Regions from separate parts of the Homo sapiens genome. Here all the other regions are linked to region 1. Evidence: promoter capture Hi-C in human tissues and cell types (Jung and others, 2019). All regions are on one chromosome and are shown on one strand. Each heading gives the region's core, a stretch centred on a gene start or on the middle of the fragment in contact. The rest is flanking DNA. Distances are from core to core; before and after follow the strand shown.

The links. Contacts are between HindIII fragments. The study calls those that stand out against the background at their distance.
Region 2: a contact is called between a fragment that was not itself captured here and the fragment with the promoter of TBX3 in region 1, in 3 of the 25 tissues and cell types used here (aorta, mesendoderm cells and thymus).
Region 3: a fragment that was not itself captured here is called in contact with the fragment with the promoter of TBX3 in region 1 in 2 of the 25 tissues and cell types used here (aorta and bladder).

What each region holds. Positions count from the first base shown.
Region 1 is chr12:114,682,671-114,685,768 of GRCh38, forward strand. It overlaps TBX3 (T-box transcription factor 3), which reads right to left and starts at 1,505. Exons shown (of 7, transcript NM_005996.4): 1 at 142-1,505. The coding sequence starts at 530. All of the region lies in intron 1 of TBX3-AS1 (TBX3 antisense RNA 1), which reads left to right. RefSeq lists a promoter at 1,507-2,016. The HindIII fragment of the contact is 7,860 bases long and covers 1-3,098 here.
Region 2 is chr12:115,225,321-115,228,418 of GRCh38, forward strand. No RefSeq gene overlaps it. Among named protein-coding and RNA genes, the nearest start is that of TBX3, 540 kb to the left of the region's middle. The HindIII fragment of the contact is 3,416 bases long and covers 1-3,098 here.
Region 3 is chr12:115,206,939-115,210,036 of GRCh38, forward strand. No RefSeq gene overlaps it. Among named protein-coding and RNA genes, the nearest start is that of TBX3, 520 kb to the left of the region's middle. The HindIII fragment of the contact is 4,919 bases long and covers 1-3,098 here.

The DNA.
Region 1 (3,098 bases), core at 255-2,754:
GAAGTCTGTGCATACATTTCTAGGGGAACTAACTTTTCGTCCAAGCCGTAATAACCGACCAACCGACTGTTCTGGGAGCAGAGAAATAAAGGGAGGAAAAAACTCTCCAACAGCTTAGGGGAGGAGGCCCCCACTGCTTACCTTCCCGACTTGGTAATGACCATCTCGGTGCCCCGCTTGTGAAACTGATCCCAAAGTTCTTTAGCCTCCAGGTGCACCTTGGGGTCGTCCTCCACCTCTTCTTCGGGCTCCATGGTCTTCAAAGGCCTCAGATGCGCCTGGGGCCCCAGGGAGGAGAACGGGATGCCGGTCTCGGCCGCCCCCACCAATTGATCCATGATCGGCTTGGCCAGGGCGCCCGGCAGCGAGAGCGCCGCCGCGCCGTTGGGAGGCAGCGTCAGCGCGGGGAAGAACGGCGGCTGGTGACCCAGCACCGCGCTCATGGCGAAGTCCGGCGCCCGGTGAGGTAGGAACGGATGGTAGGCCATGCTTGTCCCAGGAATGACCGGATCTCTCATGGAGAGGCTCATCCACTCCAGGCGGGGCGCTGGGCTCCAGCCGGGGACAAGTCCGCAGCTGCTGTGTTTTGTTGTTTTTTTGTTGTTGTTTAACAGCAGCACATAATTCAAAAGGGGGGAAAAAGCAAAACAAAAAAGAAAGAAAAAAGAAAAGGAGGCAGAAATCACAACTAATGCACTTCAAAGGGAGGAGGGGAAGTGTCTTTTGGAGAATGGGAGGCCGCTTTTAAAGAGGGCAAGGCGAAAAATCAGCAAACATAGTCGCGCGGGTGACCGTCCTTGTGCCTTGCGTTTTTAAAAAGCCGCTCCTGAACGTCGGTTTCAGAAGCGAGAGGAGCGAGCAGGGTCTCGACTCGCGCCCGAGCCCTGCCGCTGAGCTCGAAATAGACACTCCAGCCCTGCGTCCCAGGAATCTCTCTCCAGCCCCTAGGTCTTTTGTTGCAAATGTGAAAGGTTCTCCTAGAAGACTTTTTACCTTTCTTTTTCTTCTTCCCCCGCCCCCTATCTGTCTTCCTCTCCCTCTTTCTCGCTGGTGGCGTCTGCAGCTGTGCTAGACCCGGCTTTAACAGGGAGCGAGAGAGCGGAAAAAGTCTCTCTCCTTTAAAAAAAAAAAAATCTGATTTAAACCCCCTTCTACCAGCGCTATCAAAACTTGAATTGCAAACTGGCTTCCGTTCGCCGCCCTCCTCCTCCTTCCTCTGCTCCGAGCCTCCGGAGGGTGTCTCGGTTTCAATCCAAATCTTGCTGGGCTCTTCTCCCGTGCCTCTCTCTCTTCCTTGTCCTAAAACGTGAGCGAATTCGCTTCCTAAATCTGTGTCCAGGCGCGCAGGGCAGGGAGGATTTAGAGGGGGAAAAAATGGAACAGAGGGAAAGAGAGGGAGGGGAGAGAGAGAGAGAGAGAGAGAGACGGAGTCGGAGAGGGAGGGAGCGAGAGAAAGCGAGAGCTCCTCGCCACCCTCCGCCGCCTCTAGAATTCACCGGGCGTCTGCTCGGCGGCTCTAGAAGGTCGGGCTGCGCTGTGGGCTGCGGGGAGCCGGAGGCCTCTTGATTGGCTCTTTGACGCTTTCGGACCAATTGTGTTGCTGCATAGGCGTGGTTTTCACAGGTCGAGTGCTGGGGGATAGAGCTGAGTTATAAAAAGAAGGTGTCGGAAACTGTAACGTCGCAGCGCCGCATCGGTACTACTGCCTGTCCTGTGAATATGTCAACATGATCAGAGGGCGGGCGGGAGCCACTGGGGAGCGCGCGCGCACAGAGTCGCCTCTAGGTGGCTTATCGAGAGATCGCTGCAGCCCCTGAGCTCGCTCGCTCGCTCTGGTTCAGCCCACGTCTGAAATGCCTCAGTCATCCAGCCGGGGATCGAGGGAGGAGGCAGGGCCAAGGAGGAAGGGGGAGGGAGAGAGGGAGGGAGCCAGCGAGCAGGCGAGCCGGGCGGGGAAGGCGGAGAGCGCGCCCGGGCGCCGGGCAGGGGCGCTCGCCTCTCTTGCACTCCGCTCGCCTCTCCGACCGCCGCGGCCGGTTCTCTCTCCAGCTCTCCTTCTTCTCCCCGCCCCGGGCGAGCCGGGCGGGTGGCCGAGCCTCCCCGCGAGCTGCCATCCGGCCACTCGGTTCTACAAAAGCCGGCGGCAGCCGAGAAGCGAGCGCCGAGACTCCAGGCTTGCGTGCTCTCCAGCCCCACGTGGAGCCAAGCTCCGCCCGGCCGCCGCTGAAGGGCTCCCGAGCTCGGGTGTCTCGGTGCTGGTCTCCCCTGCGTCTGGGCTGGGGGAGCACAAGGATGCGGCCATATCTCAGCACACGCATGTGTGGGCTTCCTCTCCACTGCGCCCCACCCGCAGCCATGTGCGGGTACCCAAACACCCCCGGTGTATCTGTACTCGAACACGCGCCAACACACTGGGACTGAAACACACACCGAAAAACACGTACACACAAACACGTACACAGCCTGCGCGGCTGGCCCTGCCTGAGCTCCTGGGGAAGATGGATTTGGGATTTTTATGAAATGCATTTACCAGCCCTTTTGGATCTCGTCTTTCATTTGCATGCGGGCCCCCATATTCCACCTGGATGTGGGTGTGGGTGTAGAGAAGAGAATGGAGGATCTGGACAAAGCGAGCACAGCGAGAGACTGGGTTCTGAGCCTGTCCCCTCCAAGCCGCTGCCCTCACCTCGAGGCCCGGCTGGGTGCACAGCACAGGGTAAGGGGTGGGCGATTGGGTTGGGGGAGGCGCGCCAGCCTGGTATCTTCTCTAGGCATCGCACTTATCTCTCGGTGCCTCAGTTCTTTCTCCACCCCGGGGACTTAATCTGGCCAGAAGTCGGGGAGGGAGGGTGAATTTGTAAAACAAACCGTGAAACGCCCCCACCTCAGAGGCGAGTTGACTGTTTTTAGTACGGGTAGGGTGGGGGCCTCCTCTTAGGCGGACGGGAGGGAAACGACCGGATCTTACCAATCGCCGAATTACCAACTCTGTTACCGCAGCGCCCGGTCGGGGTCAGAGGATTCGCCTAAGCCCACAGTTCTTGATTCTGGGGGCCAATGTCTTGGACCATCCTTGCTTAGATGGAGGGAAATCTTGA
Region 2 (3,098 bases), core at 254-2,753, 540 kb after region 1:
AGGTACTGACCTCCTTCCTATGTAAACAACAGGCATTATCCTTATTTTGAAAATACATAAATAGAGACTTAGATGTTAGCTAACTCGACCAAGGTCACACAGCTTGAATTTAGAACATGTTTGAACTGACCAACTTCAACCTTAATGCATGATTTTTATTGCACTGAGCCACTTGCTCATGGTTTGACCCAGAAGAGAAAATACCAACCAAATATTAGAGATGACATTTTACCAACTGCTAGGACTAAGAGGTGATGAGAAAGAGCCCAGTGACCAAGGTGTGGGTGTATCCAGGAAAAGAAATAAACCTGTATGATCAAGGCGCCAGAATAGCTATCTTTATAGGTTATTTGATTGTAAGCAACAGAAACCTATTCTGGCTAACATAAGCCCAAAACGCTAGTATTGGAAGAATTGGAAGAAGTAGCTCACAAAATAGAAGAACCAGACGTCAGAGGGGTCAGGGAGCTGGTTGGACTTGGGATCTAAGTAGCAGTAAGTAATGTGATCAACCTGAATCACATGACAGCCTCTTAGCTCTAGGCAGTCAGGGTTTGAGTGACTGTCCCACGCAGACTGCATGTAACAACAGTGGGTGGGAACAAGTTTCAAAAAGGGAAATGAGCATGCTAAGACCAGAAAGAAAAGAAATAGATATTAGGTTGGCCAAAACAGCTGATGCCCTTTGCAGTGACAGTGTCAGCTAATTTTAGCAATATATATCATCTGCTGGGTTTTCTATGTGTTAGGCAGCATTGCTCTGTACAGTTTTGCAGATTGCATCCTGCCCAAGACCAGCTTGCTAAGGAGGCACAGAGGTGCTAAATCCCGGGCCAATCACTGCTTGCCAAATAGCTGTATTAACCCAGAGGAAGGGACGTCTTTCCTAACGTGCAGAAAAACACCAGGTATAAATCATCCTATTTAGTCCTCTCAACAATGCTGAAAGGTAGGTGTGGTAGATTAAAAATGGTCACAAATTCTTTGCTTCTCTTCCTGTTGAGGAGATAGCTAAATCCTTGGGGAATGGAGCTCATGCTACATGCATTGTTGAGAAGCAGAGACTAAACACCCTCCCCCCTGAATCTGGACTGGCCTTAACAACTCACTTGACCAACAGAATATGGTGGAACTAATGGCTGGAACTTCCAAAGCTAGGTCATAAGAAACCTTACTGCTTTTTTTCCCCTGGGTTTTCTGGTGCTATGAGACACCATGTATAAAGTTCAACTACTGTATTCTATTGATCCGTCACAGAGCTCAGATTTAAGAAGTCATAAACACATCACCTGTTAACCTAAGAGTGTCCAAACAATTTATGACCACCTTCAATCTACCAAATCGTTGGTTGAACTCATTCAACAAGCATTTGTTTGTTGAGCATCTGCTTTATACCAGACACTAACTTAGGCCCTGGGAATACAGTGGTGAACAAAACAGAAAAGTGATATGCTTCCATGGAACCCGTATTCTAGTGGGAGGCTGCATTCTAGCTTGAACAGATGGATCAATGAACTGGAAAGGAAAATGAAGAATGTCTATCTGGTCTCCAACTTTTGACCTGCTACATGTGTCCTATAAAATAATCTCACGATGTCACAAGATCCAATTTGCTCTTTCCAAGCCAATTTTCCACTCATTGATCATCTGCATTTAACTTTGAGGCAACAGCTGAGAAATTCTGAAATAGTAAGAGGAAGATTCTCCCTCTTACTTTCCATGGGCTGTCTGGCATGTCATAGGGCTCAGGGACTAGGTGCTGCCTGAAACTCTTGTGGCCGAGTCAGGTCCCCCATTAGCTCTGAGTTCTGGAAATTGACCAGAATTTACAAAGAAGGAGGGCATGGGGAGAATGAGGAAGCTAGAGTTGCATCATCCTGACTCAGGTCAGCCAGTGTCCACCTTGGCAATTGGCTGCAAGCTTTGGGATTGGCATGAGAAGGTTACGTTGACTGGGCCATCTAACCAGCAGCCTGAGGGCTGGGCCTGAGCAGCACCGAGGAATTTCACACATGGCGGTGCCAGCCTGGGTTCTGTTCTGGAATAACACATGCAAGTGACAGGGAAAACTCGTGAGTCATTGAGCTAATCTCAGCTCTTTTAAACTGGGTGCCTGGAAGATGAGCAAAGTTCTGACTTCAGCACCATCAAAGAGGTTATATGGCAAAGTCAACAGTTTCAACAGGGAGGAAAAGGCTGAATCACCCAGGCCATTGCTTTCCCCTTGCCTGAGTCAGGAGTAAAGGATTAAGTATTCTATTTTAGGGAGTTCCTAAGTGCTCCTGAGGAGAGCTTCCAATAGAGGTGAGTAGGTTCCTATTAACTCTGCAACACACCTTTCAAGCTAGAATCCATTTATTTTACATTTCCATTATTGGGCAACCAAATGCTATTTATGAGCTCCAACTCTGAGTGTCCACAGATATAATTTATGTCAATCACCTAGATTTGTTTTTCTAAAAATGTGCTCTGTAGAACATTAATTTTCTGGCACTCCTGATAGGTGACTGGGCGAGGTAGGGGGTTAGTATGCAGAAAAAAAATTGATCATCAAATATGGGATATACTTGGGAAATACTTGGTTACATTTTCTTCAATAGATTTTTCTACTTTAGGACTTTTCAGAGCCTTTGGTATGCTAATGTACATTGCAAATCTTCAAAAAAGCTTTAGATCTTATTAACCCTTCCCGACTTGTTTTGTCCATGAACCCCAACTTTGGAGAGTAAAGAAATCGTTTTTCATGAAGACACTTTGAGAAATGTTGTCCTTGAATCGTTTAGAACAATTCTCTCAAATTGTGGGCATACAAATTAACCAGAGACCTTATTATTAAAAATGCACATTTCCATCTCAGACATTAAAATTGAGTAGGTCTTGGGTGAGGTCCAGAAATATTCATTTAATAAACATTTCAGGTGATTTTGAAGTGAGTGATCCATTGCACACACTTTGGAAACCACTGCTTTAGAGCTAGAGTTGGAAGGCAAGTAAATTTAATCCTTGATTTTAGAGATAAGGAAACTGAGGCACTGAAAGTGATTTTTCATACAGTGAGTTTTTTGTGAAGTCAGGGATTGGTCTGAACTCCCAGATTA
Region 3 (3,098 bases), core at 266-2,765, 520 kb after region 1:
AAAAGGAGCAAGAGCAGATGAAAGTGAGGATTTGGCAAGGGTCAGGGTTGGGCCTGGGACAGGGAGTGGGAAAGGAGACTTTCCAGAGCTGCAAAAAGCAAGAGCAAGCAAGAAGGAGCCAGCCAGTTGCAGAAAGTGAGATCTGGAAAGAAAGTATGTTAAAAGGCAAAGGAACTCACGAAAGAACTGGTTGTTGATGAAGTCGATGTTACACGCAGCCTTGCCATCTTGTAAAAAGGGTTTTATTTGTCCTTTTTTGTGAGAGTCCTGGGAGAGAACCATTAAAGAAACAGACCCCGGGCAGTCAGCGCAGATCTGGATACATGTGTGTGCCTGTATGTGGGCTTGCCTGGCCCCCCTCTGGCACCCACCCCCACTTTTTACAAGGGCCAACTGGGTTGCAAGGTTAAAGCCAGAGGGGACCAATTGGTGTTGTGGGGCTTTTTTACAAAGTGCAAAGGATCAAAGTAATTAGCAAAGGGCGAGAGACCAGGCCTGTTAGAGAAAGAAGCCAGCCACCCAATGCTTTCTGCACACACGTCTTGTCTTCCCCAGGCCTGCTGTTAATGCCTGCACGGATCATGGCTGAATGGCACATGGCAGCGTGCAGAGTGCTGGAGGGGGCTCCTTTGCTCTCAGGCAGGAAGTAAACCTGGAAGGGCCAACTCTGAGCTTAGAGAGTTTTGTGGGATCTTCAGGCAGCCCAGAAGGAAGAAGAGAACTTCTTGGGGAGTCTTTCTGAGACATTTCATTGCTTCCTTCCTGTTTTAGATGGAGGCTCAATGCCTGGCCAGACCCAGACCTGGAGACCAGGATAAGGAAATAATGCCTTCCACTGAGGCCATCTAAAGCTTATCAGCTGTGATTATGGCAGGGCAAGATGTAAGAGAGAGCAAGGAATTTTCCAGGAATGATTTTAGGTGGTTCATAGACAGGACTTTAAATTATATAGAGTCATTCAGTGAGCTGATTGTTTGCTTTCTTTCTCCCTCCACCTCCCCTCTTCTCTCTTTGTAATTCTACCAAGGCCATCTCAGTTTGCTGCTAATGTGCTGTGGCAGGCAGATTAACAGCCCCCAAAGATACTCACACCTGTGAAGATATTCCATACCTGGCAAAGGGGCTTTGCAGGTGTGAGTAAGGTCAAGGCCCTAGGTGAGGGAGATTAAACCAGATTATCCATGTGAGACCAATGTAGTCACGTGAGAACCTCTCCTTGCTGCAGAGAACCAGAAAGATGGCAGCATGACAAGGACTGAAGGATCTATTGCTGGTTCTGAGAGGTGGGGGGCCCTGCATGAAGACCAGAGAGAGGCCTCCTGGAGGTAAGAGCGCCCCCCAGCTGACAACCAGCAAGGGAATGGAGACCTCAGCTCTGTAACCCAAGGGCCTTCAGAAGTGAACAGAGACCAGCCGTGCCGAAACTTCTGACCTACGGGTCTGTAATATAATATTTCGTTTTCAATGGCTAAATTTGTGGTAGTTAATGCTTACTCCCTCCTTTGCCAGAGAGAGAGAGAGAATATCCTCCTGAAAGTTTCAGGAAGGCCACAATACCAAGCTGAGATTACTAGTACCATTGTAAGGTTTTCATTACATTTATTGGTAGGTTTCATTTCTATTTGTGGTCAGTGGTAATGGTTTTCTATTTATGTTGGTGACTTCAGTTTTCTTCTTTTGGGGTGAATGTATTTTGGTAAAGAAAATAAGTTGGGTTTAAAGAAAAAATGTTAGTAAGTAGTCATGCAGATTTTATGAATTGATAAATGGTATTTAAATACCTAAAATTTAGGAAATACTGATCTAGAGTTTTCTGGAGGGCCCCTTTGGAATTCAGAAAATGGGACAGACAGCTCTGCATATGATTTGCATGTATTTGCATTCATCATATTGAGCCTTACACACCAGGGTGAGGGAGAGGCAGGGCCAGATGGCCTAGGTGCTCTGTCACTGGCTGTGATGAGGAATCACTAATTTCTCAGCTGGCCTTTGGTATTGGACCAATTGCATAAAACAGGAAGAAAAAAGTATTCATGGCAGCCAAACAGGTAAGGCTTTGTACCATAGAGAATAACAACCAGACTTCGGAACCAAACAGAATTGCCTTTGAATCCTGGCTCTTCTCCTTAAAACTGTGTGATTTGGGACAAAGAGTTTGACCTCTGTGAGCCTCAGTTTCCTTATCTGTAAAAAGGAAACTAATAAGAAAGGCTGCACTGGGATGAAGTGAAGATTAAACAGGGTCCTATTTGTAAAGAGTGCAGCCCTGTTCCTAACGCGCAGTAAACAATGCAATTCGTTACTGTTATTATTATTCTCAGCTGCCCAGCGGTGGTCAGCCCATTCGTTTATTGCTTGTGGTGTCTGCCTCCAGCATTGGAGGACTGCCCTGTGGGGCGTTCTGGGCAAGACTGGGACAGACAGTGTCCAGGCACACCAGGCCTGGGCTGGTCTCTGTCATGCTGACATGCAGAGGAAAGCAGAAAGAAAGGAATCCCACAGAGCTGTGCGTAGCTGGGTGGCCAAGCCTGCCTGCAGACCTTCTTTCTTCCCTATGTAGAGGCTCTGGCCCATTTCAAGAATGGAAACTGAAGAGAGAGCATGCCTTGGCTGGGAACAGAGCGACGGCAAGCTTCCCAGCCCTGACCAGGGACATAGCATATTGAGGCACCCGTGCCTGGAGTTAACAAGAGAGCAAAAGAAGGCGGACAAAGGAAGGGACTCTTTCTATCTCTGTTGCATCACCTGTGCTTAAAAGTGGGGCTTTAGGGATCAGACAGACTTGGGTTGCCTCTGCCAGTTACTTCTGTGTGGCTTTGAACAAGTGACTTCCCCTTTCTGATAATAACATAGCTAACATTTGTTAAGCCCTGACTTTGTGCCAGCCTCTATTCTAAACACTACACAAGTATTAGATAACCTCCACGGCAACCCTAGGAGAAAGACATGCTTATTATTTCCATTTTACAGATGAAAAGATTGAGGCACAGAGAGGTTATTCAACTAGCTCAAAGTCACGCAGCTAATACATGGCAGATCCAAGATTCAATTCAAGGCAGTCAGGATCCAGAGCCTATACTTTGCTAGTATATGGTGAT